Regions from separate parts of the Homo sapiens genome. Here regions 2, 3 and 4 are each linked to region 1. The links are contacts of gene promoters, found by promoter capture Hi-C in blood cells and fetal thymus (Javierre and others, 2016). All regions are on one chromosome and are shown on one strand. The core of a region is centred on a gene start or on the middle of the fragment in contact, and the rest is flanking DNA. Distances in the headings are between cores, read along the strand shown. Region 1 holds the start of CHD4 (chromodomain helicase DNA binding protein 4). Region 2 overlaps LTBR (lymphotoxin beta receptor). Region 3 holds the start of GPR162 (G protein-coupled receptor 162). Region 4 has its middle 14 kb from the start of MLF2.

Region 1 (7,629 bases), core at 3,427-5,926:
GAGGGGAAGCGTAGAAGCATAAGGACTACAAAGCAACACACCAGCACACACCTCCGAGCCCTTTCTGGAACTCAAGAAGAGAGGAAGGGATTTTAACTTTCTCCTTGTTGTGGTGTTAGGGAGAGGTGGGGAGCAAGAGCAGCAAAGGAAGAAGTGGGTAGAACCTACAGGAATAGGGACACAGGGTGAGTAGTGGACAAAGGATATATGGATAAATAAAATGTGGATATTTTTAGTCACAGGCAGGAGGCTGTGACTACCCAAACGCTCTCTTACTGGTTTATATGGACAGATCACTGTGGAAATGAGAGTATGGGTATGGGCAGATGGAGATATTGCAGAAGGGAATTTGAGGCCCAGAGACAGGCTGGATCCCCTGGAGAAATGAGGGTAGAAGAGCGCACAATAGGCATCTGGCAGCCCTCTGTAGGAAGGAGAAACTTCCCTGAAAGGAGGTGTCCCCACATCATGGTATCTGAAAAGAGCTGCCTCCTCACCCCCCATTGTGGAACACAAGTTTCATTCTTAGTACTCAGAGTAAGTATGGGAGAGGGCTTGGGTAAGTAAATGGGGCCCAGTCTTGATGTCGAGAGCATTTAACGAGGGAAACTGGAAGCCTTGCAGAACGGGGGAGAATGGCCCGCTTGCCACAATGAGTGCAGCAAGAGGGTGGGCCAGGGAGCTGAAGGGAAGGTTGGAAAAAGAAAACACCTACTTCAAAGGTGACAGGGAGCTTTTGACAGGACCTGATGTCTTTGATGCCAAAAACTCCAGTCCTAAGATGAGGAGAGTTAAATGTGGAATGCTAGTGGGTCTACAGAGTCAGCCAGGAGCTAGCGGAAGACTTGTCTGCATCCCTGGTGCTCTGCTCAGGAGCAGGGGGATTGTAATTCCCTGAGGCAAGCTCTTGCCTTCCCTGAACTCATTTCTTTGTACCAGTTCTCCAGTCCCTTGGATCCTAGAGAAGGGGAGAGCCATCTGGCCAGGCCTTCCTCTAGGAAAATGAGATGAGAAGGGTAATGCAGAGATGGCATGAGGTTCATCCCACTCACTACTGGTTAGTAAAGGGCCCTTTCTACAAGGAAGTCCAAGTTTCTTTTCAACTCGTCCCACTTCCATAGGTCTTGGACCCATGCAAAAAAGGTACATGAGCAGAGGGAGACATTATCCTTGGCCTGGGGTTAGGGCAGCAAGGCAGTGGTGCTGGGACATTGGTTTTCACTCAGGTCCTGAATCTCTGGGAGTCAGGAAAAGGGAAAAGTGACAGGCTGATGGGTTAGGTTTTCTGAGGGCCAAAGGGTTTTAAGATTGGGCTCTTTCCTGGCCAGGCGCAGTGGCTCACGCCTGTAATCCCAGCACTTTGGGAGGCCGAGGCGGGCGGATCACCTGAGTTTGGGCGTTCGAGACCAGCCTGACCAATATGGAGAAACCCCGTCTCTACTAAAAATACAAAATTAGCCGGGCATGGTGGCACATGCCTGTAATCCCAGCTACCCGGGAGGCTGAGGCAGGAAAATCACTTGAACCTGGGAGGCTGAGGTTGCAGTGAGCCGAGATCGCGCCATGGCACTCCAGCCTGGGCAACAAGAGCGAAACTCCGTCTCAAAAAAAAAAAAAAAAAAAAAAATTAGGCTCTTTCCTGAGGTGGGAAGATCACTTGAGTCCAGAAGTTCAAGATCAGCCTGGCAACATAGTGAAACCCCGTCTCTACAATAAATTTAAAAATTAGCTGGGTGTGGTGGTGTATGCCCGTGGTTCCAGCTACAGGTGGGAGGCTGAGGTGGGATGATCACTTGAGCCCAGGAGGTTGAGGTTGCAGTGAGCTGTGATTGCGCCACTGAGACCCTGTCTCTCAAAAAAACAAAAAACAAAACAAAAAAAATTCGGTTATTTCAGCTTCTAGGATTGGGTCCATAGGGTGGCTGGAGGGTATGCATAATAAGGGAAGGAGATGGTATACGCTGGAGGGCTACCTTGGGGCATAATTCAATGTAGAAGGTTTCCTGGACTGCTGACTTCTTTTTTTTTTTTTTTTTTTCTGAGGCAGAGTCTTGCTCTGTTGCCCAGGCTGTAGTGCAGTGGTGCAATCTCAGCTCCCTGCAACCTCTACCTCCTGGGTTCAAGCAATTCTCCTGCCTCAGCCCTTGAGTAGCTAGGATTACAGGCACGTGCCACCATGTCAGGCTAATTTTTGTATGTTTAGTAGAGACGGGGTTTCACCATTTTGGCCAGGCTGGTCTTGAACTCCTGACCTTGTGATCCACCTGCCTTGGCCTCCCAAAGTGCTGGGATTACAGGCATGAGCCACCATGCCCCGCTGGAATATTGACTTCTATACAGGCAGGGGAAGATGGGGAACATTATACAACTAAAGATTTTTTTTTTTTTGAGGTGGAGAATGTGGCCCCAACAAGATGAGGATGGAGGCCATTGGAGATACTATGAGACTTCAGGATATAAAATGGGAAAGTGCCTGAAAAATATGGGACATTGAGGATAAGCAGGATTTGGTGTTCAAGAATGAGGGAAACAATGCTGGTATATTGTGGAGTCTCTTAAGAAGGAAGGACATGAACATATTATAGGATTTCAGTATTAGGAATGCTGGATGGATGAACATTGCTTTCCAAGAAAAATCCCCTAGTAAGTAGGGAACAGATAGGAGATCATGTTGACTATGGTCTATACCCATAAATCCTTTAAGTATCATCTTCCAGCCTCTAGAAGGACCACGATAAATCTTATTGGGATATGTTCTCTCTTGGAACCAGTGGGATTTTATTTTCTGTAACAGGAAATTGGGAAACAGTGCTCAGCAGTTCTCCCTTGGCACCATTCTGTCGTGTATCATAGTTTGCTTGGTTGCTTATGCTTTTTGAAGGGAGGCCCCCTGGTCTTCCTTGATTCTCCATGGTGCGGAGCTCGGCCTTGCTAGGTACTCTGTCAACACAGGTTGAATGAACATGAGTAGTGGTGAGTAGCGGGAGGGCAGGCCTTCACTCTTGGTGTGTATAGAGCAGGAACCTGAGTTCACATCGTGATGGGATGTCCATCCCCAGGAATGGCCTGGGGGTGTTGGTGAAAGATCCCTGACCTGGGGATGTGGTGAGGGGGAGGATTGCTAGAATGTTGAGAGATAGTCTTTGGATGGGAGTTGGTAATTATTATGGGATGCTGTAGGGTGAATTAGACTTCATGTAAATGTTTCATCTGTCAGCTTGGTATTTTGGTTGGTTGGTGTTCCTCAAAACTTAGGAGCTGGAGGTAAGCATCTGGAAAATACCTAGATTTTGGTGGGACTGGGTGGGGCCCTAGGTGGGCTCCCAGCCCCCGAGTGTCTGGAAATGATGGTATGAGGGAAGCTGGGGTCCCAGACATCAGGAGGCTTTTTGCCAGGATACTACTTTGGCCCAGAAAGGGATTAAGGTGTGTGCAAGTGGGGGCGGGGACAAGGAAGCGTGGGTAGCCTGCCTGGCCCTCCCTGCTCTGGGTGTTAGAATAGACTGACAGCGCCTGGAGATGGGGGTGGGAAGAATATGAATATTATGGGATGCCTGGCTCGAAGGGTATAGGGGTGGTAGAGTGGAGATGAAGCATTATGGGATGTGACACTGGGTTGTGTTGGGAGTATTATGGTATGTTTGGTTGACCACGGGCTCCTTGCAATTATTATGGGATGTCAGGATGTGGGTAGGAGAGTAAAATTATTATGGGATAGCTTTCCAGTGTTAGAGGAAAAGAGATTAGATGTCCATCTGTGGGGCGACAGTAGGGCTGTTGATCATTATGGGTTATCTTTTTGATAGAGGAGGGGTACTTACTATAGGCTGTGGAGCTAGAAGAGGGAAGGCTGGGGGTGATGTGAGCCTCTAGACCCTGGCCTGCAGGGACTGAGGGCAGCTCTAGGGGGTTAGTTATTATGGGATGTCAGTATAGAAAGTGGGAGACTGATTATTACGGGATGTGTGTGGGAGGAGGCCGAGTGTCCGTTGTTGTAGTATGGGGGGGGGTGAGTTTCTGACTATTATGGGATATCAAACTGGGGGTGGATGAAGGATGGTTATTATGGGATGTCTGTGGGGGATGGGGCTGAATATTATGGGATATGAGGCATAAGTGCTGCGAGGGGTGCTTATTATGGGATGGCCATGGGGAGGGAGGGGTGATGAATTATTATGGGATGTTAGCATTAGGTCCAAGAGTGAAGAAGAAGTTGGCAAAGGATGTCTATTATGGGATGTCTAAGAGGGTTAGTTGCAAAAGGTCTGCAATATTTTGAGATGTCAGCAGTCTCTGGCATATGTGTATGAAATGTGGGGGGGCAGGGTGTGTGTGTGTTGTGTGTGTGTGTGTGTGTGTGTGTGTGTGTGTGTGTGTGTGTGTTGGGGGGGGGGGTGTCCGTGTGTATTATGGGATGGCCAGGAGGTGGGCGGTTGCCCAGGTGACGCGCGCGCGCCCGCTGCGAAGGGGGCGTGGCCAGTGGTTGCCTGAGCGACGAGGGGGCGGGGGTTGCCCGGGAGACCTGGGGAGGAGGGTGGCGGTAGTGGAAGGGGGGGGTTGGAGTTGGTTGAGGTTATTATGGGCTGTCCGTGGGGGGGCGGGGCCTGTGCGGTGGGATTTCCCGGCCGGTGTTTCAGGCCCTTTAAGAGGCGACGCTGGAGCCGGAGCCATTTTCCCCCCTTCGGCCGCGGCGAGGAGGAGCCGGAGCGGGAGTGACACCGAGCCGGACCCAGCGCGACCTGCGGCGGCTCCGGGGTGAGGAGAGCGCGGGGTTCCCAAAGAGACGCCCCTCACGGCCCTACCAGCCCCGAGGGTCATCCCGTCACCCGCCCCTTCCTCAGGCGTCTCCGGACCCGCGGACCGCCCCTTGCCCAGAGGAGCCGACCCTTCCTTTCCTGGCCCTGCAGGGCGCCCGGCCTCCTCCCCAGCCCCCGCCCTAACCCTGCCGGAGTCTTGCTCCCCGCGACCCCCCGCCTCCGGCTTGGTCTCCCACAATGCCCGGCGCCCACCCCCTCGCCCTTTGATCACTTGCCCCCCGGGACACGTGGCCCGGCCCCCTTCCCGGTGGGACGCTTTCGCCCCCCGCGTCCCTGCCTCCGGCCCCCCGCAGCGCCCGAGCCTCCACGCCCCCTCGTCCCCGCAGCTCTTGAGGAGAACCTGAGTTGTCCCAGAGGACAGCCTTTGGAGAGCTGCCCTGTCTGGGGACTGGCCCCTCCCCGGGCGCAGGGAGGCGCCCCCCCACCCCCAAGTGACCTTGTGTCCCCGAGCGCCTCGCCGCCTGCGGCCTCCCCTGGCCCCCCCGCGCCGCTGCCACTCGGACCCCCTCCCCCGTCACACCCCGCTCGGTCCAGCCCCGCGTCTCCCCTCCCCGCGCTTGCACCAGCCTGCCCTCGGAGGCGTCGCTCCCTCGCTCCGTGGGGGCGCCTGCCGGGGAGCCGGCTTCCGGGCTGCCCCCGAGGAGTGTGGAACTAAGTTCAGCCTGAGCGGTTCGGGTGCCCTGCTAGGGTGGCTGGGGTGGGGGGCGGAAAGAGCGGGTGGGTGTGGGGGAGGGGGACAGTGCGCGTCACTGACTGTTCTGTGTTTCTCCCCCCTCCCCCGCACAGTGACTCGGGCCAGTGTAGAGGTCCTCAGGCCGCCGGCAGGAGCAGCTGGGCCAATTCCCTGGCCGGGAGCGGAAGGGGATGGCGTCGGGCCTGGGCTCCCCGTCCCCCTGCTCGGCGGGCAGTGAGGAGGAGGATATGGATGCACTTTTGAACAACAGCCTGCCCCCACCCCACCCAGGTAACATCTTCCCCAAGGGCCCATGGCGGGAAGGAGACATCTGGGGCTCTCCCGAGTGACTCCTCTGGTGAGGCAGGGCTGTGTTGCTCCGCTGTCTCTGTGCAGAGCCGGAGGTGGAGGGTATCCGAAGGGAGTGGTTCCCTTCTGCGGAGCTCTGGTGTGAGGGGGGTGGAAGCCATGTGCCTCCTGGGCACGGAGATGCCAGCTTGCTGCACTCTGTCTTGAGGAATGCTCTGCAGTTCCCAGTTGAGGGAGCTCTCTGGGCTGGCAGGCATTACCTGGTATGTGGGTCCTCGGAGGAATGCAGGTAGCTGGGACCCCTGGAGGCTTGTGGTGGTGGTGGTGGAGGGGGGCGTTGAGGATTCTGTTTGAAAGACCAGCCGGGCATCTGTGCTAGTAGGATCCTGTGGTTGCTGCTGTGGAAAGGAAAGAGGGAGTGCTGGTTACACTCTATCTGATTATTTTTAGCTTCTGATCGGTTACCGGTTTTCTGTGCTGTCTGAACTGTGTGAAGTTTGAATCGCGCTCCTCAGCAGGATCTGGAGTGCTTAAAGCAGCCAGGCAGATTGCTGGAATGTTTTGAGTGGGGAAGTGATGGGGGCTCGGGGAGGATGTAATAGCCTAGTGAAGAGGGGCAAAAGAAGGGAGGGCACTCCTCCTCCTGGTGAGTGGACATAGTTTTGGCTTTTTTCCTAGTGGCTTCTGTCTCTATGAGGTAGCCTGCGGTTTAGGCTGGCAGTGTGAAGTGTCTGTGTAGGTGTGCTAGGGGTTACGCTATCTGTGTTTTGGGGTGGCTTCATGAACTGGCCAAACCCGTATGGTTGTAACCACCCTGTCTGATTGGGGGAACTGTTGTCTATCCTCAAATGATGGTTGATGTCATGCCCCTAAGCAGATGTCTTTCTCTTCTGTGTCCTTTTTCAGAGCCCCTAGCTGTGTCACCTACTCATCTCCTTGACCTTCATGTTTTCTAGTTTAATTTTTTTTTCTACATGTCATTTCTTCATTCCTTCTGCTTCTAGTTTTCTTCTCATTCTGGAGCCTGCTGATCCTGTTTTTGTTTCTCATCCAGCATCATTCACTTCTGCCTTCTCTCTTCTTAGCTTCAGTGGAAGTTGAGGTGGTCTGGGAGAGATGCTTTCACATTTGGCACTTTTTAAGTTGGAATTCTTCACTTCAACCTGAGGCCATTTAGGAGAGGGGTTAGTGTTGTCATGGAGTCTGGGCTGTTGGGATGAGAAACTTGGTTTCATCCTTGTGTAGAGTAGGGGGCAGATTTCCATGCCCTTGCCCAAGGTGAGGGCGGAGTTGTGGTGCTGGTAAGGGGACCCTGTCCTTCTGAGAGGGGCATGAGAAACAGTAGTGCTGCCTAAACATTCTGGGTTCCACGTCTTGGCCTCCCATTGGCCACTTGGGCTGGGGCTGCCTTTCATGTTGACCGGGAGCTGCGCAGGAGCTGTGAACTCTGTCCTGAGCTGTAGCATGACCCACTTTTTCCACTTGCCACACCCCATTCCTGTCCCTTTCCTAAATCTTCTCTATATCTCAGTAAGTTTGCGGTTTGCCATTTCAGCATATTATTTGCCTGAGAAGTTTGGGGGGCTCCATGTGCATGGAAGGATGTCCCCTTTGCCTCCATGGGTTGTCTTTGTCTCCACTTCCAGCTTTTATGGGGGTGGTGAGATGTAGCTGATGGGGGTTGGGGGTTGACTTGGGGATTGGTGGGGAAAAGTCCTTAAGAAAATGATTCTTTCTGGTGAAATCCAGGCTGATGTTGCATTCCCAAGGGGGAATGGGAGGGGCGTTCTTGTGCCTGGTCTTATTCTGGGCTGAGAAGCAGGGAGGCTG
Region 2 (7,629 bases), core at 2,069-4,568, 210 kb after region 1:
AGAGCTTATGCAGGGCATAAGGGAGGCAGCACGAGAGAGAGAATTCTCTGGCTGGCTCCTGGAAGAGACTCAAGAGAACTAAAGGAACTAAAGGAGAATTAAAGGAACTAAAGTGGGAAGGGAGTGAGTTTGAGCAGGTAGAGATGAGGAAATTTTGGCACCTGTTCAGTTTGATAACATGCTTCTTTATGCATCGTGTGTCTCATTAGCATGTTAAGTCTCCACCCCGGTGTGATTTTTAGTATTATAATGAAGATAAGGCAAAGGAGCGCTCATTCTTCTGGTCCTGTGGTATACATACGGGAGATAGGGTTAACTCCTTTGAGTAAGATTCAAGGTGGGAGCTGCTTATTTTAATTTCTACAACTAGTGGGTTTGGCACCTGGAGTAAGATTTATGGTGGGACGTTGTTCATCTTAGTCTCTCTAAGGGTCTGCGATGAGTGGGTATAGTACCTTGAGCAAGATTCATGGTGCAAGGTCTGGACAGTCTGGTTGGGGTCCTCACTGGCCACACACCCCCACCCCAGCTTACAATAGAGGTTCTTGGTAGGGCACGAGTGGGGCCCGAGTCCCATCCCTACTCTGTCTCAGTAGGACAGCTTGAGGTTTCATCATGCTGTTCAGAACAGTGCACAATTTAAAACAGATGAATTGTTTCTTTCCGGAATTTTCCATTTAATATTTTTGGACCACAGTTGACAGCAGATAACTGAAACCATGGAAAGCAAAATCACAAACAAGAAAAAAAAATAACAAACAAGGGGGGACTACTGTAGTACCATCTGTAGAAATAAAAAAGCAAAGGAATCTATTTATATATATTTGTTTGAATATGCATAAATTACCTCTGGAAAAGCATCAGAAACAGTAACATTGGTTGCTTCCAGAGCAGGGACCTTGGTGGTTGGGGGATAGGAGTGAAAGAGAGACATTTCACTGTTTACTCTTTGATACTTTTTGAATTTTGACCCATGTGAATAAATCAACCATCCGAAAGAGAGGAAATAAATACAATTAAAACTAAAAAAGAAAAGGAACACCAAACACTATGATTTACACAAATGGGAACTTTTTTTTTCTCTCATAAAAAGAAGCCCAGGAGTAGGTGCTGTGCTTACTTACTGTTGATTTGGGTCTCAGTGATGCCTTGGGAGCCAGGTTCTGTCCTTTCTTCCAGGTCCTCAGAGGACTGGCTTTTTATCCCCGTGGCGGTTTCCTCATGATGGTAAGATGGCTGCCACAGCTCAGGAGTGATGTTGTCACACGCAAAATCCCCAAAACAAAAAATAAGGGCCAAGGCAAACCAAAAACTTTCTCCTAATGGTGCTTTATACCCTGGAAAGGAAGACTTCCCTGTGCATGTCATTGTACAATTGCAAAGAAGAATGAGTTTATTGGCTCCTGGGATTGGGGGAAGGGCCTCTTCTCCTGATGTCACGGAATCTCTGCTCTAGTACAAAAATGCGGTTCTGTCCTTAGGAAATGTGCAGAAGTCTGTTGGACAGGCAGCAGAAAGAGTCCACCACAGCTGTCTATGTGAACCGCTTTATCTTTTGAAAAGGGAAGTTCTTACTGACCCTTGTTGGGCTGACCCTGCCGGTACTCACAGTGCTTCCTGCGGGAAAAGACTAGAGTGAGTCTCCTGTGAAGTCTCAGACTGGTGGGGAAGCCGAACGCCCACCTCCCATCCACTGTGTCCACTGGAGAAACCGAGCATCCAGGGACTCCTCTGCGTGTGGCACTGTGCGGGCTTGGGGAGGAGTGGCGTGGTCAGAAAGCAGCCATCCCCTTACCGTCCTCATGGTTTTTCTTGGCTCTGCCATCCCAGGGGATGCAAAGCTTCACTCCAAGTTCTGGGATATTCAGGGTGGTAAACTTGCCACAGGATTGTTGCTAGTTGAAATTCTGTTGGGGAGGAGAGAAGCCGGAGAACTCCTACTTTGACATTGTGTTGATGCCACTCTCAAAAAGGGAAATTCTGAATTACCCCATCCTCCCCCATCTCCCTGTGCTACTGCTCTGTCCCCAGTTCCATCCACCTTTCTTCTGGACTACAGCCTTGGCCCCCTAACGGGTGTCCCACCCCCGTGTTGATGTGGGTTGGACTTGGTGTTAGCTTTCTCCTCCCTGTGGTAGAGGATTAGGGTTCTCACAACCAACAGTTACCCCATTGTCAACTGCCATTGCATCCTGTTGCATCTTTTGAAGACCACCATCAAGAGGCTGTCTTTGTTGGTTTTCTGCCAGCTTTTCCTTGTAGACAGGAGCTCCCCTCTACGTGGCCTGTGCTCTGTGGATGTGTCCTGGAGCCTGTACTGACTCCACACTGGCAAAATAGACATGGGTAATGCTGTGGGTGGAACTGTGTCTCCCTCCAAAATCCACGTGCTGAAGCCCTAACTCCCAGGACCTCAGAATGGGGCCTTATTTGGAGACAGGGGCTTTAAAGAGGTGACTAAGTTAAAATGAGGTCATCAGGATGGGCCCTAATCCACTAAGAGAAGATTAGGACACACTCATGCACAAAGGCAAGACCATGTGAAGACATAGGTGGCAGGAAGGCCACCATTAGCAGGCCAAGGACAGAGGCCTCAGAGGACACCAACCTTGCCAACACGTTGACCTCTGACTTCCAGCCTCCAGAGCTGTGAGAAGATAAATCTCTGCAGCTTAAGCTATCGAGTCTGCAGTACTTTGTTATGGCGGCCCTAGAAAATTAATTTAGGCAGCCCAGGTGCAGTGGCTCATGCCTGCAATCTCAGCTCTTTGGGAGGCTGAGGTGGGAGGATCACTTGATCCCAGGAGTTTGAGACCAGCCTGGACAACATAGCAAGACCCCACTTCTTAAAAAAGAAATTAAAAAAAAATTAGCCAGGTGTGGTGGCACGCATCTGTAGCTCTAGCTACGTGGGAGGCTGAGGTAGGAAGATCATTTGAGTCTAGGAGCTGAGGCTATATGAGCCACGATTATACCACTGCACTCAAGCCAGGGCGACACAGTAAGACCCTGTCTCTAAAAAAATACAGGCAGGTATAATTATAAATTTGAATGGTGTCACAAAGGGCTGTGCTTCAGCATCATTTCTTTCAAAATATTTTCCTCCTTTTATTTTGTTGAAAAAAATGTATAAAATTTGTTTTTTATCTAAACACATTAGAACAATTATTAAGAATTCATGAGGTCTGGCCCCAGCATATTGCAGGGGCAGGAGGATTTAACTTTATTTAAAGATACAGCTCACCATTATTTACTTTTCAAAAAAGGAAGTTGGATGTGATATTTTCACAGTCAACCTTAAATGACCCATCCACTCCATTGGATCAGACGCCTTCTGAGGTGTGTGTTTTGCAGCCGCCCCACCCTGATGAGCTCCAGCGACAGAGTTCCTCATATCAGACCCATGAGAGTGGCCTTTTATGGAAGGAGCAGCCGGCTGGCAGCAGCTCCCTAACAATCCTGCAAGCTAAGATCCTCTCGACCGAGCACAGGAGAGAATTCAGGGGCAGGGAGGGGCAAACATTTACTAATAAGAGGGCTTGAGAAGATTTAAAGTCCTTTTTGGGGGTAAAAATAAAAGAAGACAAAAAGAAACCAAAAAAGTAAAAATCATAAATACTCTTTCTGAACCAAAAGGAGGCCAGCCTAGATTTCTGTTCACCAACAAAATGTGAACTTGGCCTCTCTCATTTTATGTCTAAAGTGCACACCTCAGGTCAGGCACGGTGGCTCTCACGCCTGTAATCACTGCATGTTCAGAGGCCAAGGCAGGAGGATTGCTTGAGCCCAGGAGTTCGAGACCAGCCTGGGCAACACAGGGAGACCTGATCTCTACTAAAAATACAAAAAATTAGCTGGGCGTCGTGGCACACACCTATAGCCCCAGCTACTTGGGAGGCTGAGGTGGGCGGATCCCTTGAGCCAGGAGTTCAAGGTTGCCATGAGCCATAATAGTGCCACTGCACAACAGCCTGAGTGACAGAATTAGATCCTGTCTCAAAAAAAAAAAAAAAAATTGCACACATTTCCCTTCAATCAACCTTGGAGAACATTTTTCACTTCGCGTGTGGCTAGATGTTTGAGAGTTGACTGAAAAGTAACACCTGCGGAACATGCAAGAGATCTGATTATTTGAGAAGGCCAGACCATTCTACCCGTTCAAAGAAATTCTGGAAGGGCGTGGTATATGAAGGCTTTTTTTTCCCCAAGAGGCCTCTAAAAGCCAGACGAACTAGGTGCAAATCCCAGCTTTGTCATTTGCAGCTGAATTGGGAAAGTTACCGCTCTGTGCCTCAGTTTCCTCATTTGTTAAATGGGAATCATATCTACCTTAGGGAGTTATTGTGAAGATTAAGTAAGTTAGTACTGTAAAGCATTGAGAACACTGCCTGGCACGTTGTCAGCCATCACTGACGAGACTGTTATTACCTGGACTATACTCACCAGCTCCTCACTGAAATATCTTTATGGGATTATATTTTAGTGTCTTGACCTTTGTCTTTGAGATTGTCTCCATGGAATAGTGTTTCTGTATAAATCCCAAGAAAATAAATTATCTAGGTCCCATTCTTTTTATTTGCATGTGGTTACAATATAAATACACTTGCCATTTTCCTCCCCTTCCAAAACTCTTCCCCATACCTAGGAATCCTACCCAACCCCCTAGTTGTTAATGACTCCCTTTCCTCTCCTCTAGGAGGGGAGGGAAGGAGCGTCCTCCCTATAATTTCATCTTCATGCAGGGTCTACCTCAGTCCACGTGAAGTGTGGAACCCCAAAGGGTCTCTGAAGCTTGGGGATGAGCACCACGAATCCTTTAGAGGGGCCCGTGACGTCCTTGCAGGTGACCGTGTGGCGGCTCCCTCGGTGCCGTGCTCCGGTGCGGCGTGCCGTAGTGGGCAGCAGTTGGTATCATGTGCCCTGTCCGTGCCTGAGGCTGAGCAGCCCCAGGGGGTGGGTGGGTCTGCCGGGAGGCCTCAGGTTTGCTCAGGCAGTAGGGAGAGTCCTGTGGAGGGCACCGTACCCAGCCAGTGCCCACCTGCTCTCAGAGGTGTCTGAGCCTTAATCCCTTAGGGCTCTGCTTCCCCGGGCCCTACTCAGGCCCCTGTGAATCCCACGTGGGCAGGGCAGCCTCAAGGGAGAAGGTGCCCTTGTGCCCCCCTTCTTCTGCCTTTTCTCAGACTCAGTCAGTCATGGGTGATAAATTGGTTCCTTGGGCCCCTGTTAGAGGGTGTGGCACCACAGTGCTCTGTCTCCGCTAGGTGCCAAGCCTTGCCATCTTCCTGGTGGGGTGTAGAGAGCCCGGGAGGGCCAGGGTCCCCCTCTTCGGGAATGGGGTATGGAGGTTCGGGGGTAGCTGGGAGGTCTCCAGGACCCGGTGGTCCCCCCAGTACTGGTCCATTGTAGATGTAGATGTTGCCAGTGATAGTCATAGACCCGCCGGTGACATGAATGCCATTGGTACCTGTAGGAAGGGAGGCAGAGTGTTGAGGAAGGAAGGCCCCCAGTTCAGGCCCGCTGCTTCTTGAATTCTTGCCTTCTTCTCGCCTTTCCCCTGGCCCCGCCCCTCTCCTGCTTGCTGCTGGTTTATTGAGCTTCTGTGTTCATTTCTCTGCTTCTGGGTTTTCCAGTCTCTTCCCTCTTCTCTAGTTGTGACACTGACTGGCAGCGGAGTCTCTGTCTGCCTCTGTTTTGGTCTTTTTATTTCATCTGGCCCACAGTCTCTCCCTGCCAGCCATCCCTCCCTCCCCATCCTTCCTCTCTTCTCCCTGCCCCAGGCTCACCGTGGGCCACCTGGCTCTGCTCCCCGGGTTCCAACTGCGGCTCCCTGGTCAGGTCCAGAGGACTCTGCTGTTGCGGCACCCCTGCCTCCAAAACTGGGGCTGCGGGGAGCCCAGTGGATACTGGGGAAACATCTCCAGAAATGGGTAGCAGTGGCTGTACCAAGTCAGGGAAGTATGGATGGGCCTTCGGAGGCTCCCAGCTTCCAGCTACAGGATTGGGTCCCTCTCCCTGCAGGAAAGAGATGGAGACCCAAACAATGATGAGGGCCCCAGACCCTTTTTTCTCTCTCCCTCCCTCCCTCTTCTTTCTCTCTTTCTCTTTCTTTCTTTCCTTCCTTCCTTTCTCTCTCTCTCTCTCTTTCTCTCTCTCTCTTTCTTTCTTTCCAGACAGGGTCAGGGTCTGTCACCCAGGCTACAGTGCAGTGGTGCAATCATAGCTCACTGCAGGCTCATGAACTCTTGGACTCAAGTGATCCTCTAGCCTCAGCCTCCTGAGTAGCTGGGACTGTCTGGCTAACTTTTTTTTTTTTTTTTTTTTGAGACAGAGTCTCACTCTGTCACCCAGGCTGGAGTGCAGTGGCATAATCTCAGTTCAACTGCAACTTCCGCCTCCACGGTTCAAGCAATTCTCCTGCCTCAGCCTCCTGAGTAGCTGGGATTACAGGTGCCTGCCACCACGCCCAGCTAATTTTTGTATTTTTAGTAGAGATGGGGTTTTGCCATGTTGGCCGGGCTGGTCTCAAACCCCTGACCTCAGGTGATCCACCCGCCTTGGCCTCCCAAAGTACTGGGATTACATGTATCATGGATCGGCATGTTTGGGGGTGGTGCGGGTGCCCTCCTGTTCAGAGACCAGGATTGGGCAGGCTTGTGCGTGCAGGATGGGAGCTTGGGCGTGAGCCACTGCACCTGGCCCTGCCTGGCTAACTTGGAACAACATTTTGGGTAGAGATGGGGTCTGGCTGTGTTGCCCAGGCTGGCTCATCTTTCTTTAGTTCCCACACCCCACCGCATGCTTTGGCAACTCACCACTTGCCTCTGCTCCTCCCCATGCCCCCTGCCTCAGGGTCTTTGCACTGGTTGCTCCCTCTTCCTGGAGCACTTTCTCCCCAGATAACCCCATGGCTGGCTCCTTGCTTCTTCAGCTCTCCGCTCAAATATCAGGTTCTCAGAGAGGCCTTCACTCTCCACTCTGTCTAAAATACCCCCATCCTTTGCCACTGTCACTCATTGACCCCTTCCCTGCTTTGTTTAGCAATTATACCACCTGATATATAGTTTAACTTATTCTTGCTCCATGGGCATGTGAACTCCAGGAAATGAGGTACTGTGTTTTGCTCACTGCTGTACGCCCAGTGCCTAGGACAGTGCCTGGTACGTGGCATGTTCAGTAAATCATCAGTTGAATGAATGAATGAGTGTGGAGTCAGCCTGCATACTCTCTTCCTGTCTGCTCCACCTTGTACCCTCATCACCTCTTCCCCTTCTTGCTGCCTTCTCAGCCCCCGCCATTACCTGCGGACGCCTCTTGAGCAGCGATCCTGCAATGGAGAATGAAATGGGTGTAGGCTCCCCGGCAGGCCTCAGACCTAGCCTTTCAGCCTCCACATCCCAGCACAATGTGTAGCAACTTGACCACCCGGGGGCCCAGAGGAACAAGCCACTGTCACTCTCATCTCCAGCCTCAGAATAAGCAGCTGGATGAAGATAAGGATGTCTATGTTGGGGGTAGGCATTGGGAGTCTTGAGGGTGTGGAGGGTTGCACCGGGGAAGTTGAATATTCCTCCCTCCGGCTCCCATTGCCAACCATCCACTGCATCCAACCCTTTCCTACCCAGTTTCCTG
Region 3 (7,629 bases), core at 3,774-6,273, 210 kb before region 1:
TCCTCGTCCTCCTCGTCCTCCAACCTGTGTCTTTGTCCCAGGTACTCAGGAGGACCCCCGAGGGCCCGGCTCTGGGCTGGGAGGACCCGGATGTCATCAGAGGATGACCACTTGTGCAGGAAGGAGCCTGGTTCCCGAGGGGTAGAGAAGATGTTTGTCTCATCATGGGACAGACGCCGGGATAGGGGGACCTGGGAAGAGGAGCGGGTAAGACCTGAAGGTGCTGCAGGGACAGAGGCAGAGGCAGGAACCAAGTGGGGACTCCGGAAGATGGTGCCACCTTCTTAACCTTCAAAACGTTTGCTCCGGTGGGCAAACCTGGCCCCACGAGGTCTGAAGGGATGCCTCTCTTGCTATAGCTTTCTTTCACCCAGCTCTATGGTGCCCTGAAAGCCAGGGCTAGGGAAGAGGGGATTGGGGTGCCTAACAGACACTGGAGAAAAGTGATGAGCGGCACCAAGGGTAGGAGATGTATCCCCCAGTTCCATACCTGTAAGTAGTGGACTCTCTCAAGAGGAGGGAAGAGCATGTGCCTTCCAGGCAGCAGCTTCACCTGGGCGGGGTCCCGGCTCCCTGGTCCTGTGGCTCCGTTAGCATCAAAGCGAACTTTGCAAACTCGGCCCTCTGCATAGTCGTCACAGCCCCCATCTAGGAGAGAAAATGGGCAGAGTGGTTACAGGTAGGGAATGCCTACCGCGGCCTCCCACCACTGCCTTTATAAGCTCCCAGAGACCCCTTTAGTTCCCATTAGCATGTATGTTCCAAGAGGACAGTGAGAGTGGCTAGCATTTGCTGCGTTCAGTGCTAAATCCTGAGTGGAGTGCTTCATACATATAGATGAAGTTATTGAAACAATTGCCTGCACTCCCCCAAGAGCCGTCCCTATAGCTGGGGGGCCTCTCTCGGGAAGCTCAGGTTCCCCATAGTGCCAGAGCTGGGCAGTGTGGGTTTCTGGAGGGGAGCCTAGGCCCAGTGAAGGGAGCCCTGAGTGCTGCGGGAAGCAGTGAGTGGACAGCAGGGTGCCTGCTTAGGGAAAGGGGAGCCCAGGGTGGTGCAGATTCTGTCCAGTAGGGGGCACTCCAGGGCAGCCCATCCTCTGGCTGAGAAGGAGCGGCAGAAAAGGGAATAGACAGATGTCCAGGAAAGCCAAAGCCCAGCCCCTCCTCTGACCGTCATCTCCATCCTCCTCAGACATGATGGCCACGCATTGCTCCCACACTGTGCGCACGTCGGCGCGGTAGCGCTCGCAGGACCAGATGAAGGAGGGCAGCAGCAGCGTCTGTGCCATGGAGCACCACAGCACAGCCAGCACCATCCAGGGGGGCGCCGAGTCCGACTTGAGGGAGAAGAAGCTCACCACCTGGGGAAGGGTGGGAGCGGGCTGGGTCAGGGCCAGAGCTGAGGAGCCCACCTGAACCCCATATCCTAGTGCAGCTGGTGGGCAAGACGTCAGAAGTAATGCCTGATCCCTGTGCTCCAACAGAGGCGAAGCCGGAGGTGGAGATGGAGTGAACAGAGGGAAGGGACTGACTCAGAGGAAGGTCGGGGAGAGTGCTGGAGACAAAGCCCTGCGGTCAGGAGGGAGAGGAACAGAGGTGGACCAGGAACCGTAGAGACAGACAGGAACCCAGGAACAGTGACTAGATGGGGTGGTGGGGTGAGCCCTGTGGGATTTCCAGCCAAGAGTGCTCAGAGACCATGTGGCAGCCCGAGGGAAGGAGGGAATGGAGAGTGGAGCCCAGCGGCTGGATGAGAGGTCTGCGGCTGAACCGTGGAGCTGCAGGATGGATGACGGAGCTGGAGGACAGGTCGTGGAACTGAAGGACGGTGATGGAGCTGAGGAGTGGGAACTGAAGCAGATGCTGGAGCTGGGGTAAACAGGGTAGTGGGAACTAAAAGACAGATGATCAAGATGGGGGCCACAAATGGAGTGGGGGATGGACAGAGGAGAGGAAGATGGATGATGGAACTGGAGGAGAGATGACGGAGCTGCTGTATGGCTGATGAAGTTGGAGGTCAGGTGATGATGCTGGGGCCTGGATATTGGGGAGAACAGGTGGGGAGGACCCCGATCTCACCAAGATGGGCACCCCTGTGAGTGAGTCATAGAGAAAGACGATGGCGCTGACCAAGTTGGTGACCTGCAGGGATGTCTTGGCAGACTCCGAGCCATCCAGCGAGGACCGCCGCTTCCCTCGGGCATCCTCCACCACAATGGCTGGTACCTCAAAAGCTGGCCGGGTACCCAAGGCCCCTGGCCCACCCGCTTTGGTCCCCCCACCACCCCCCACTCTCCGGGCCTGCCGAGCCCTCCGGGGCCGGGCCCACAGTGTCTGGTAGAAGGTGATGGCCACACAGACCAGACCCATGACAATTCCCCCAAGTAGCAAGAGGCTGAAGCAAACGCCAAAGCCGAGGCCGATCTTGGAGACTATGAACTGGCAGCCGCGGGCATAGTAGCGCTCGCCGTTGTTGTGCCAGCCAATGGAGGGCAGTGTGGAGAGGATGAAGCTGACCATCCAGATGCCCATGACGGCATGCAGTGCCTGCTTCTTGGCGTTGCTGAGGCGGTAGTTGACGGGCCAGCGCACCATCCACATGCGATGGTAGGAGAGGGAGGCGACCGTGAAGCAGGTGGCCAGCGCCAGGGTGTAGTAGGTGGACACGAAGACCTTGCAGATACTCTCGTTCCAGTCATAGTCGGAGGAAGCCTGACGACGCAGCTGCACCACGGCAAAGGTGGTGAGGGGCACAGCTGCCATGAGTATGTGTGTGCCCGCTAGGAAGCAGAGCAGCAGCTCCAGTGGCTTGTGCTTCTGCTGCTTGGCCGAGATGCTGAGGATGATCCAGGCATTGGCCAGCAGCGCCAGGAGCCCACAGGCCAGCCAGGACAATGCGTTGGAGCGCAGGGAGGCCTCCTCTGCCCCCGCCCCGCCCCGAGCCATCCTATCCTCAGCCCCCCACCCCCTTGAGCTCTGTGGGGGTGGGGGCTAGGTCTCACCCAGGAGCCCCACTCACAAACACTCCCATGATCCCCACAATCCTCGCCCTGTCAGCAGGCAGGCTGCCCCCAGGCTCACCCCAGTGCTCAGCATTGCATGATGGACCCAGCTGAGGGCAGATGTAGAGGGCAGGGGAGGAGACTGAGGGTCAGCAGAGGCAATCCTCAGCTTTCATACTGGGCGGGGCCTTCCTTAAGCATCCCTGCAATTGATGGGGCAGGCAAGCTGGCTACTTTCCCAACTATGAGGCTGGCTGGGGGGTTCTGGTCCCCATGCTGGGACTTCCAGGTCTCTTTTGCCTCTGGTTCTTGACCAGTCAGGAATCTTCTGGATGCCCCAGGGATTTGGGGGTGGGGCTCAGCCCCCTGGACAGGCTGCAAGGGAAAGATGAGATGTGGGAGGGAGAGGGCAAAGGTAGGGCCTGGGCTGGTCTCCAATCAGCCTCCTGTGCCCCCTTTCTTGAAACTATAGGCATGACTGATTACTAAGGCCCTGAGGGTCATTCAGAACATTCCTTTGCCTTAACTCTGACAGCTAAACACCCCACACAGATGAGAGCCGCACTCTTCCAGACCTCTAGGGAAGAAGGTATTCCCACCTCCCTGTCTCCTTTAGCCCTTCCTCCTCCCGCTGGAACTCCCAGGTTCCTTCTTAGAACATCCCCTGCTCAGCACTACTCCACCCCTATCTTCAAGTCCCTAAATGTCTCTTCAGAACTACTGATGGGAGACACAAGACTGGTTTCCTCTTGAGGGTTCACAGTGAACTGGGATATGGCATCACAGCCTTCCTCCCCTACCTGCCGGTCTCCTGGATGCAGGGGTCTTGGTGCTTAGCCCCTACTTCCCCAAACCTGGGTGATCACCCTCCAGCTACCCATATCTGGGAAAATGGGAGAAAGGAGTCTGGGACCGAAGGGGGTGCTAGGGAACCTGAAGGCGGGGAAACCGCTGACATCAGAAGCATCCAGAAATGGAAAGAGGGGGAACTAGGGAGAAGGAGGAGAGTTTGAGCAGAAGAGAAAGAGGGGGCAAAGTGGTAGTATCTGAAAATAGCAGGAAAAGCTCAAACCCCCTGGAGAGGAGGCTTTGGAGGGAGGAGGGACTGGAGGAGGGAGGGAGGGAGGGAGCAGGGAATAGGAGGCTGAGAAGAAAAGCCAAATGTTCAATAAGGTGCTGACTCCCCGTGGGGAGACCTTGACTCTTCCTCCCTGGCCCAGAGCCTCAGTTTCCCTCTCATGGGAGGAAGGATGGTCCCAGTTTTAGTGCGTGATGCTGAGCTTCAGTGAGCCCTGGGAAGGGGGGTAAGGGAATCGGGTGAAACCCTGAACAGAGTGGGGCTGTAAGGAAGCACATAATGGCTTTAGGGTAAGTGGGGTAAAAATGGGGCACAGCAGTGAAAGGGTCTGTTTCCCATGGAAGCAGCTCAGACCCTTGCTTTCCCCAAGAGGTCCTGGTCCACCCCCACCCTTGGCTTCCCTCCGGAGCCCAGTACACCCTAGTTGCCATGGCAATGGCCAGCCAGAGGGAGGTGGAGGGACTTGGCCAAGAGCAGCCCCCAGTGTCCTCTCCTACAGCCCTGGACCCCTTCCCACCCACCTCCACCCAGGCCCAGCTGGTGGGCTCAGGATGAAAGAGATAGGGAGTCAGAGAGGGAAGGAGGCAGGAAAGATGTGAAGGACAGAGAGAGGGAGGTGAAGGACAGGGAGAGATCAGAGGAAGGTGGGAAGGGGGATCTGGGAGGTTCCCTGGCCGACGGGGTCCCTCGCCCTTTGGGGTGAAGGGGTAAGGTCAGGCGGCTCCTCCCTCCTGTCCCCCTCCAGGTTCTCCAGGGCAGAAACAGCAGGTGGCTGGGGAGGAGGGGCCGGCCTAGGGGAGAGGAGGCAGCTTGAGGGGGAAAGGGAGGCAACACAGGGGACGGGGCAGGCAGGGGTCGTCTTACCTCTCTCCGGCTGCGCCCAGCACTGCCATGGAGACCGCACTCCCGACGCGGCTCTCTCGGGCTCCCGCTGCCTGCCGGCTCCAGCTCGCCCGCCCTCCTCCCTCCTTCCCTCTCTCCCTCCCTCCCTTCCCCCGGGCCTCCCTCCTCCCCCTCAGTCCCGGCCTCCCAGGCTCAGCCCACGGCTCACTCGGTCTCTGCCCCTCTCACTCTCCAGGACCCTCTCTCCCGGGGTCGTCCTGCCAGTGAGCCCAGGCCAGAGGGAAGGCAGGACAGCTTTGTGGGGGGCGGGGGGGGGCGGGAAACGAGTGCAGGGTGGGGAACTGGACGGTGGTGACTCGGGGAGGAGGGGCAAGGAAGGCGCTGAGAGGGAGGGCGGTGAGGAGGATGGCTGGGAACCGGCTTCATTGGTGAAATGGTTCATGTCCTGCCCCCACCCCTTCCCGTTTTCAACACGAACACAAGCTCCAAGAGGCAGCTGGTGTTGTTGGGGACTGAGGAGCTAGCTGTTCGGGGAGGAGGAAGCGTGTGTCACTGTGTGTATCTGTGTGAGGGCTGGGCCTTGGGTTTGGGAGTGAGGGGGCTTGTGGTGCACACTGGGGCTGCTTGTGGAGTTGGGGGTGGTTGTGCACAAGCTAAAAGGATGTGGGCGCATGCATGCACACAGACACACACACTCTGCCTCCTCCTCCTGGAACACAAACACATATGTTGGGGATACAATTTGCACACACATGTTACAGTTTCTCATAGTCCTTTTTCTCTGCCACACACATACACCAGGAGAGCTCACACAACCCTGAGTCTCTCCCCCACGGTATATCACACACATGTAATTACAGAGTCTCAGCCTCACACACACACAGGCCCACACAGAGCCCTGTGGGTTGTGGAGGTGGGTAGCCAGCCTCCACAGAATTTTTCCCTCTCCAGGGAAACTTCATCTCCTTCCTGGGGCACGCCCAGCAACCTCTCCTCTGGGTCCGACCCCAAAGACCAGAAGATTCCTGGTCCCCAGAGAAGGGGTCTCTCTCTCTCTCTCTCTCTCACACACACACACACACACACACACACACACACACACACACGAAGAGCATCTTTATAGTAAGTTTATTGTATTTTTATTTCAGCTCAGGGGAGCAGGGGTGGAGAGTGGGCACAAATGCAAAGTAAGCAAATGGGGAGCCCCAGCAGCAATAGGGGGGTCTTCCTGGAAGAGGCAGGCTTTAAAGACAGGAGGAGAAGGAAATAGGGAAAAGGAGTTGGGACTGAGGGAAGTGGTGAGGAAGGGTAGGAAGAGAGGGGATCCTGAGAGAAGTGGATCAAGAAGATTTGTAACCCTGATTTCCCTGTGTCCTGAATGGTCTGGAGGAGGGTAAGGGAGGGTGTGGGGCAGGCGCAGAGCCTGGCACAATCACCTTTGAGGTCCCTTAGAGGGTTCCCTCTCAGGCTAGCTACCCCCTCTCCCAGCAAAGCTCGCTTCCAGGAGGTTCTGCACAGGGTCAGTGACTGGTCACTGGGCATTCTCTCCTGCAGTGCCTGTGCTCCCAGCTTGCGCTCTGATTAGAAGAGCCAAAGGCTTTGTCCTCTGGTAACAGATTCTGCCACCAGCGGGGGATGAAGGAGGGATTTTAGACAGGGAGGCCTTCATCCCTGCTCGTAAATTCTCTGAGATGGACCCTTCCCATGGGTGCTGTGCTTCTGTGAACCCAAAAGTACACATTGAGTACCCACCACTAGCCACTGGTGAGAGCCGTGTGGCATTTGTCCCTGCATTCAAGAGGCAGCAGTGGAACTTGGGACAAGGGACCTGGGTTAGTCCCGACTCCAGCACTTGCTAGTCCGGCACTTGGTAATCAATCATCTAGCCTCTCTGAGCTCTGGTTCTGGTCTATAAACTGGAGATGATCATCTTAGTTCTGTCACTGCCAGCCTTGTAGGATTTTTCTAAGTCTCAAATAGACAGAGGATGTGAGACATCCCTTGAGGCCGTGTACATGGGGCTGTGTCCAGAGGGGCTGTTTGTGCAAGGTCAGGATGTGAGTCTGTGGTCCCACCCACATAGGGTGAGAAGCGGGCAGCATGGGGCAGGAGGTACTGGCTGCCAGAAACCTCTGGATCTGCATCCATCCTTGACTGGCTTGGCTGTGTGATTTTGTGCAAGTTCCTGCCCTCTGTGGTCCCAGGGTCCTGTCTTGTAAAAGAACAGTCCCATGCTCCATGCTTCCAGACACCCAGCCTCACCCTCCATGCCAGCCAGGGCTGGCCCTGAACACTCCCCTGGGATCCAAATGAGCAGTGGGGAGAGGGTCAGAGAGAAATAATGAGAGAAGGGCTAGGCTTGAAGGAAAAGGAAATGGCGTGGAGGACGGTGTGATTAAGCCTCTGGAAACTAGAGAGCAACACTCAACCAGTGAAGCCGGGGCCTAACCCAGGAGAAACAATGGCAAATTGTAGAGGAGGCGAACAGGAGGCCAGAGGCTGGGGATCTGCTACATTCATCTGGTCCGCAGGCAGGAAACGCGGGGCAGACACCTGGGGAGGCTGCAAGTGGGATCTGCCTGGCCTCGTGCCTCAAATGGGGCTACATGTCTTCTGAAACCGGCTGCAGGAACAAAGAAGAAGGGGAGCAGGTCTGTCCCCACTGCAACCCCTTTGCGTTCTAGCACCTCCAATGGCCTTTCCAGCG
Region 4 (7,629 bases), core at 915-3,414, 130 kb before region 1:
CCAATATGGTGAAACCCTGTCTCTACTAAAAATACAAAAAATTAGCTGGGTGTGTGTAGGGACCAGCCCCACAGGGTCGGTGGGTCTCTCCCTGTGTGCGGTGATGAGAGAGCATAGAAATAAAGACACAAGACAAGGAGATAAAAGAAAAGGCAGCTGGGCCCGGGCGACCACTACCACCAATGCGCAGAGACCGGTAGTGGCCCCGAATGTCTGGCTGCGCTGTTATTTATTGGATACAAGGCAGAAGGGGCAGGGTAAAGAATGTGAGTCATCTCCAATGATAGGTAAGGTCACGTGGGTCACGTGTCCACTGGACAGGGGGCCCTTCCCTGCCTGGCAGCTGAGGCAGAGAGAGAGAGAGAGGAGACAGAGAGAAAGACAGCTTACGCCATTATTTCTGCATATCAGAGACTTTTAGTACTTTCACTAATTTACTACCGCTATCTAGAAGGCAGAGCCAGGTGTACAGGATGGAACATGAAGGCGGACTAGGAGCGTGACCACTGAAGCACAGCATCACAGGGAGAGGGTTAGGCCTCCGGATAACCGCGGGCCAGCCTGACTAATGTCAGGCCCTCCACAAGAGGTGGAGGAGCAGAGTCTTCTCTAAACTCCCCCGGGGAAAAGGAGACTCACTTTCCCGGTCTGCTAAGTAGCGGGTGTTGTTCCTTGACACTTTTCGCTACTGCTAGACCACCTCCCAGGTTCAAGTAATTCTCCTGCCTCAGCCTCCTGAGTAACTGCAATTACAGTCGCATGCCACCACGCCTGGCTAATTTTTTATATTTTCGGTAGAGATGGGGTTTCACCATGTTGGCCAGGCTGGTCTCAAACTCCTGACTTCAAGTGATCTGCCCACCTGGGCCTCCCAAAGTGCTGGGATTACAGGCGTGAGCCACAGTGGCCGGCCTGCTTTGTGCATTTTAAAGCGCTTTAGTTAAATGCATAGACATTTAGAATTATTGTATCTACTTGGAAAACCAAATATCTTATTATGTAATGTCTTTTTTGTTTTGTTTTGTTTTTTTTGAGACAGAGTCTCGCTCTGTCACCCAGGCTGGAGTGCAGTGGCATGATCTCGGCTCACTGCAACCTCTGCCTCCCAGGTTCAAGTGATCCTCCTGCCTCAGCCTTCTAAGTAGCTGGGATTACACGCCTGGCTAATTTTTTTGTATTTTTAGTATTGATGGGGGTTACACCATGTTGGCCAGGCTGGTCTGGAACTCCTGACTTCGTGATCTGCCCACCTCGGCCTCCTAAAGTGCTGGGATTACAAGCTTAAGCCACCAAGCCCAGCCAATGTCCCTCTTTATCTCTGGTAATTTTCTTTGCTCTGAAGTTTAGTTAACTGTTACTACAGCCATTTTCAACTTTCTTTTGGTTAGTGTTCATGGTACGTGTTTCTCCATCTTTTTACTTTTAACCGACCTATGTCATACTTAAAAGTATTTGTTTTCTTTTTTAAGACACTGTATTTCTGGGTCTTTTAAAAAAATTATTTTGGCCGGGCGCGGTGGTTACGCCTGTAATCCCAGCATTTTGTGAGGCCGGGGTAGGCAGATCACGAGGTCAGGAGATCGAGACCATCCTGGTTAACACAGTGAAACCCCATCTCCACTAAAAATACAAAAAAAATTAGGAAGGCGTGGTGATGGGCGCCTGTAGTCCCAGCTACTCGGGAGGCTGAGGCAGGAGAATGGCGCGAACCGGGGAGGCGGAGGTTGCAGTGAGCCGAGATCGCACTACTGCACTCCAGCCTGGCAACAGAGTGAGACTCTGTCTCAAAAAAAAGAAAAAAATTATTTTGATATTTTTTTAAAATAGAGATGGGGTCTCTATTCACTGTGTTGCACAGGCTAGTGTCAAAATCATGGGCTCAAGTGATCCTCACGCCTCAGCCTCCCAAAGTGCTGGAGTTAAGAAGTGAGTCTTTTTTTTTTTTCTTTTTTTTTTTTTTTTGAGACAGGGTCTCACTCTGTTACCCAGGCTGCAGTGCAGTGGCACAGTTACAGCTCACTGCAGCCTTAACTTCTCAGGCTCAAGCAATCCTCCCAACTCAGCCTCCCAAGTAGCTGGAACTACAGATGTATACCACCAGCCTATCCGTCTTTTAATTGTAGTTAGGCCATTTAAATTTAATATAATTGCCCAGGTGTGGTGACTCACACCTGTAATCCCAGCACTTTGGGAGGCCAAGGCGGGAGGATTGCCTGAGGTCAGGAGTTCGAGACTGTCCTGGCCAACATGGTGAAACCCTGTCTCTACTAAAAATACAAAAATCAGCTGGGCTTGGTGCATATGCCTGTAATCCCAGCTACTCGGGAGGCTGAGGCAGGAGAATAGCTTGAACCTGGGAGGCAGAGGTTGTAGCAAGCTGAGATCGCGCCACTGCGCTCCAGCCTGGGCGACAAGAGTGAGACTCCATCTCAAAAAAATAAATAAATAAAAATAAAAAATTAATATAATTAGTATGTTTGCATTTATCTCTTTTTTTTTCTTTGTTTCTTTCTTTCTTTTTTTTTTTTTGAGACAGAGTCTCACTCTGTTGCCCAGGCTTCAGTGCAGTGGCACGGTCTCGGCCCACTGCAAGCTCCGCCTCCCGGGTTCATGCCATTCTCCTGCCTCAGCCTCCCAAGTGACTGGGACTACAGGTGCCCGCCACCACGCCCGGCTAATTTTTTTGTATTTTTAGTAGAGATGGGGTTTCACCATGTTAGCCAGGACGGTCTCGATCTCGTGATCCACCTGCCTCGGCTTCCCAAAGTGCTGAGATTACAGGTGTGAGCCACCGCGCCCGGCAATATTTCTATTATTTATTATTTATTTTGTTTGTTCTGTTTGTAATTTCTCTGTCTCCATTTTCCAGCCTTGTATTGGTTTACTTGAATGTTATTTAGTATTCCATTTTAATTTATGTACAGATTTTTTTCACCCAGTAAATCTCTGTATCATTTTCTTTTCTTTTTCTTCATTTTTTGAGTCGGAGTCTCGCTCTGTCGCCCAGGCTGGAGTGCAGTGGTGTGATCTCGGCTCTCTGGAAGCTTCGCCTCCTGAGTTCACGCCATTCTCCTGCCTCAGCCTCCCGAGTAGCTGGAACTACAGGAGCCCGCCACCACGCCCGGCTATTTTTTTGTATTTTTAGTAGAGACGCGTTTTCACCGTGTTAGCCAGGATGGTCTTGATCTCCTGACCTCGTGATCCGCCCGCCTCGACCTCCCAAAGTGCTGGGATTACAGGCTTGAACCACCGCGCCCGGCTTTTTGTTTTGTTTTTTGTTTTTGAAACGGAGTCTTGCTCTGTCGCCCAGGCTGGAGTGCAGAGGCGCGATCTCGGCTCTCTGCAAACTTAGGCTCACTGCAACCTCCGCCTCCCGGGCTCAAGTGATTCTCCTGCCTCAGCCTGCCGATTAGCTGGGACTACAGGCGCCCACCACCATGCCCAGCGAATTTTTTTTTTTTTTTTTTTTTTGAGACAGAGTCTCGCTCCTGTCGCCCAGGCTGGAGTGCAGTGGCGCGATCTTGGCTCACTGCAAGCTCCGCCTGCCGCGTTCACGCCATTCTCCTGCCTCAGCCTCCCAAGTAGCTGGGACTACAGGCGCCCGCCACCACGCCCGGCTAATTTTTTTTTTTTTTTTTTTTTTTGTATTTTTAGTAGAGACGGGGTTTCACCGTGTTAGCCAGGATGGTCTCGATCTCCTGACCTCGTGATCTGCCCGCCTCCGCCTCCCAAAGTGCTGGGATTACAGCCGTGAGCCACCGCGCCAGGCCTAATTTTTGTATTTTTAGTAGAGACAGGGTTTCACCCTGTTGGCCAGGATGATCTCGATCTCTTGACCTCGTGATCTGCCCACCTTGGCTTCCCAAAGTGTTTGGATTACAGGCATGAGCCACCGCGCCTGGCTTTCTTTTCTTTAGTGGTCGCTCTAGGACAGGCATTGGTGACATCTCGCCTCACTGCAACCTCTGCCACCTGGGTTCAGGCAATTCTCCTGCCTTGGCCTCCTGAAAAGCTGGGATTACAGGCGCCTGCCACCTCGCCTGGCTAATTTTTGTAGTTTTGGTGGAGGCGGACTTTCACCATTTTGGCCAATCTGTTCTTGAACTCCTGACCTCGTGATCCACCCGCCTCGGCCTCCCAAAGTGCTGGGATTATAGGCAAGAGTCACTACACTGGGCCGGCAAACTTTTTCTGTAAAGGGCCAGATACAATAAATATGATGAGCTTTGTCAGCCATACAATGTGTGTTGCAACACCCAAATCTGATGCTGTAGTGCAAAAGCAACCATACATGATATGCAATGAATGAGGTGTAACTACAGTCCAACAAAACTGTATTTACAAAAACAGGCAGTGGGCTGGATTTGGCCTGTGGAATATGGTTTACTAACCCTTACTATGGGGATTACAAAATACATACTTTTCACAATCAGAGTTTTTTTCTACCACTTCAAGTTAAATGTAGAAATTTTACCACAACATAGCTCCCTTTACTGTCTCATCTCGTAGTTCTCATATGTGTTACTATAAATGACAAACACCACATACTACAAATACTGAAACTCCACATACTAAACGCTAAAAATGCTTAGTTCTAGGTGAATTTATCTATTGATTTTTAATTTTTGAGACAGGGTTTCACTCCTGTTGCCCAGACTAGAATGCAATGGCACAATCTTGGCTCACTGCAACCTCTACCTCCCAGGCTCAAGCAATTCTCCTGCCTTAGCCTCCCAAGTAGCTGGGACTACAGGCACAGGCCACCATGCCCCACTAATTTTTTTTGTATTTTTTATAGCGGCGAAGTTTCACCATGTTGCCTAGGCTAGTCTAGAACTCCTAGGCTGAAGAGATCTGCCCATCTCAGCCTCCCAAAGTGCTGAGATTATAGGTGTGAGTCACCACACCTAGCCTTCTAGGTGAATTTATTTATTTCTTGAGACGGAGTTTCACTCTTCTTGCCCAGGCTGGAGTGCAATGGCGCGATCTCAGCTCACTGCAACCTCTACCTCCAGGTTCAAACAGTTCTCCTGCCTCAGCCTCCCAAGTAGCTGGGATTACAGGCATGCACCACCACGCCCGGCTAATTTTTGTGTTTTTAGTAGAGACAGGGTTTCACCATGTTGGCCAGGCTGGTCTCCAACTCCTGACCTCAAGTGTTCCGCCCGCCTTAGCCTCCCAAAGTGCTGGGATTACAGGCGTGAGCCGCGGTGCATGGCTCTAGGTGAATTTATAATTGTTTTAAAATTATATTTAGAGAATTCCCTCTTGAGACAAACATCAAATTTATGATTTTCTTTCAGCTGTCATAAACATTTTAAAGAACTTAAGAGGAGAAAAATAATCTATTATATTTACCATTGCTGCTGCTCTTCATCCTTAATGTTCCGTGTTTCCTTTGGTGTCATTTCTCTTCTGCCTAAAGAACTTCCTTTAGGATTTTACAGCGGGTTTTCCGGTGACAAATTCTTATTTTCCTTCACCTGAGAATATCTTTATTTCACATTCATTCCTGAGCAATATTTTCACTGGATATAGGATTTTGAGTTAATTCCCTTAAGCCCCTTAAAAGTATCATTCTAGTTCCACCTGACTTTCATAGTTTCTGACGAAAAATGTGCAGTCATTTGAGTCATTTTTATCCTGTGTGAAAAGCACTGTTTTTCTGAATGCTTGTGGGACTTTTTTCTTTGTCTTTAACCTTCGGCAATTTTATTCTGATGTGTCCAGATATGGATTTTTTTTTTTTTTTTTGAGACAGAGTCTAGCTCTATCACTCAGGCTGGAGTGCAGTTGGCTTGATCTCGGTTCACTGCAACTTCCACCTCCCAGGTTCAAGTGATTCTCCTGCCTCAGTCTTCCAAGTAGCTCGGACTACAGGCATGTGCCACCACGCTGGCTATGGACATGGATTTGAGTATATCTTGTTTGCTATCCACCAAACTTTTTGAATCTGTCTTTGTCTTTTGCCAGGTTTGGGAAGTTTTTGTTTTTGTTTTTGTTTTTGAGACAGAGTCTCGCTGTTGTCACCCAGGCTGGGGGAGTGCAATGGCACAATCTCAGCTCACTGTAACCTCCACCTCCCAGGTTGAAGCGATTCTCCTGCCTCAGCCTCCCAAGTAGCTGAGATTACAGGTGCCTGCCACCACGCCTGGCTAATTTTTGTATTTTTAGTAAAGGTGGGGTTTCACCATGTTGGCCAGGCTAGTCTCGAACTCCTGACCTCAGGTGAATGGTCCAGCTCAGCTTCCCAAAGTGCTGGAATTACAGGCGTGAGCCACCACATCCGGCCTAGTTATTGCTATTTTCTGTTTGGTTCTTTATATCTTCCATTTCTTTGCTAAGACTTTCTTTACATTTGTTTCAAAAGCATTCTCCCTTTCTTCTTCCTGCATGGTTAGACTGCTTGCAGCATTTGCTTTAAATTCCAACACTTCTGCCTCCTTGGGGTTGGCTGTCTTTTCCCTGGAGAGTTATTTGTATGCTGAGTCACCTTAAATCATACTCTGGATATTTTGAATATTATGGTTTGAGGCTCTGGGTCTTGTTAAAATCTTAAGGAGCATGTTGAACATGTTGAATGGTAATTTGTTTTAGCAGGTAATCAGGTTCAGGCAGCAAGTTTTGACCTGCCTTTTTGGCACTGTGGTTTCAATGTCGGTTTTATTTTAAAAGTGTTTGCAGTGCTATTTGGATCAGGCCGGCTCGGGTGCCACCCAGTGGCCAGTCAGACCTGGACAGTGATCCATTCTGTAATTCAGTTCACAAAGCCTTAGGTAGGCTGTTCAGGGACAGATCTACGCTTGCACAGCTCAGAGCTTAGCCCAGGAGTTCATAAACTTTTACGGGATTGTTCTCTTGATTTTCCTCCCGTGTCTCTCTGACATTTTTTGGGCCCCTGGGGCTTCCCTCTCCATTCCCATATGATCGTGCCACTGTACTCCAGCCTGGGTGACAGAGCAAGACATGGTCTCAAAAGCAAAATAAAACAAAAAACAAGATGTATTTGCCAATTGACTGATAAATGAACAGTAAGTATAGGATTGTCTATCTTGCCCCATTCCCCAAATTATGCATTTCCTATTGAGGGACAGGCAGCGGGTCACAGAATGAAGCCTTTCTGCCTGCAGGCCTTTATCCCACTATTCTTCCCATCCAAGATGCTCGCCCTCTCTTTCATCAGGCTAATTCCTACTTGGGCTTCTAGTTTCAGTTTAAAGGTCATGTCCTTGGAGGCTTTTCTGACCCCAAGCAAGATGTAGATCCCAGTTAAATGCTTTCGTGTCACCCAATACTTCTTAAAGTACTTATCACACTTGTAATATATAACCATGTACTTAAGAACCTCAAAGGACAAGTTTCTCTTGCTCTCTTGCCCTGTACTCAAAAGTTTCACTTTTCCCTTCTCTCTCAGACGGTGACCTTGGGCCCCCTTACATGTCTTCCAAGGCCCTGCAGTAGCCTTTTCAGAGCCCTTGCAGAGCTGAGTCAATGAGGGTGATGAGGGCACATTTCCAGTTCACACCCCGGAGGTTCTAATTCAATAGAAAAGGGTGGAAGTGGGGTCCAGGAATGCACATTTTCAGAAGCTCCCCTGATGATTTTGATGCTGGTGGCCCAGAAAAACTG

Evidence for each region. The method cuts DNA at HindIII sites, captures the fragments that hold promoters and counts their contacts. A CHiCAGO score of 5 or more calls a contact.
Region 2: a contact is called between a fragment that was not itself captured here and the fragment with the promoter of CHD4 in region 1, in 1 of 17 cell types (activated CD4 T cells). The highest score is 6.7, in activated CD4 T cells.
Region 3: the fragment with the promoter of GPR162 here is called in contact with the fragment with the promoter of CHD4 in region 1 in 13 of 17 cell types (activated CD4 T cells, naive CD4 T cells, total CD4 T cells and 10 more); the score reaches 13.1 in activated CD4 T cells.
Region 4: a contact is called between a fragment that was not itself captured here and the fragment with the promoter of CHD4 in region 1, in 8 of 17 cell types (naive CD4 T cells, total CD8 T cells, total CD4 T cells and 5 more). The highest score is 10.4, in naive CD4 T cells.

Annotation. Positions count from the first base shown.
Region 1 is chr12:6,604,426-6,612,054 of GRCh38, reverse strand. CHD4 (chromodomain helicase DNA binding protein 4) reads left to right here and starts at 4,676. Exons shown (of 40, transcript NM_001273.5): 1 at 4,676-4,755; 2 at 5,604-5,781. The coding sequence starts at 5,682. LOC124902867 (a long non-coding RNA gene) reads right to left here and starts at 6,169. Exons shown (of 2, transcript XR_007063193.1): 1 at 6,060-6,169; 2 at 2,745-2,940. RefSeq lists enhancers at 4,056-4,205, 5,946-6,105 and silencers at 4,796-4,895, 5,306-5,365, 5,546-5,595. The HindIII fragment of the contact is 30,599 bases long and covers 1-7,629 here.
Region 2 is chr12:6,388,495-6,396,123 of GRCh38, reverse strand. It overlaps LTBR (lymphotoxin beta receptor), which reads right to left. Exons shown (of 10, transcript NM_002342.3): 7 at 7,619-7,629; 8 at 7,299-7,324; 9 at 5,784-6,012; 10 at 4,558-5,464. The coding sequence ends at 5,187. Among named protein-coding and RNA genes, the nearest start is that of LTBR, 8.1 kb to the right of the region's middle. RefSeq lists an enhancer at 4,651-5,463. The HindIII fragment of the contact is 2,950 bases long and covers 1,844-4,793 here.
Region 3 is chr12:6,819,215-6,826,843 of GRCh38, reverse strand. It overlaps GPR162 (G protein-coupled receptor 162), which reads right to left and starts at 5,023. Exons shown (of 5, transcript NM_019858.2): 1 at 4,944-5,023; 2 at 2,079-3,376; 3 at 1,171-1,360; 4 at 491-648; 5 at 1-191. The coding sequence starts at 2,945. CD4 (CD4 molecule) reads right to left here. Exons shown (of 10, transcript NM_000616.5): 10 at 6,045-7,545. The coding sequence ends at 7,515. RefSeq lists enhancers at 5,040-6,012, 6,983-7,483, 7,484-7,629. The HindIII fragment of the contact is 21,739 bases long and covers 1-7,629 here.
Region 4 is chr12:6,734,956-6,742,584 of GRCh38, reverse strand. No RefSeq gene overlaps it. Among named protein-coding and RNA genes, the nearest start is that of MLF2, 14 kb to the left of the region's middle. The HindIII fragment of the contact is 1,764 bases long and covers 1,283-3,046 here.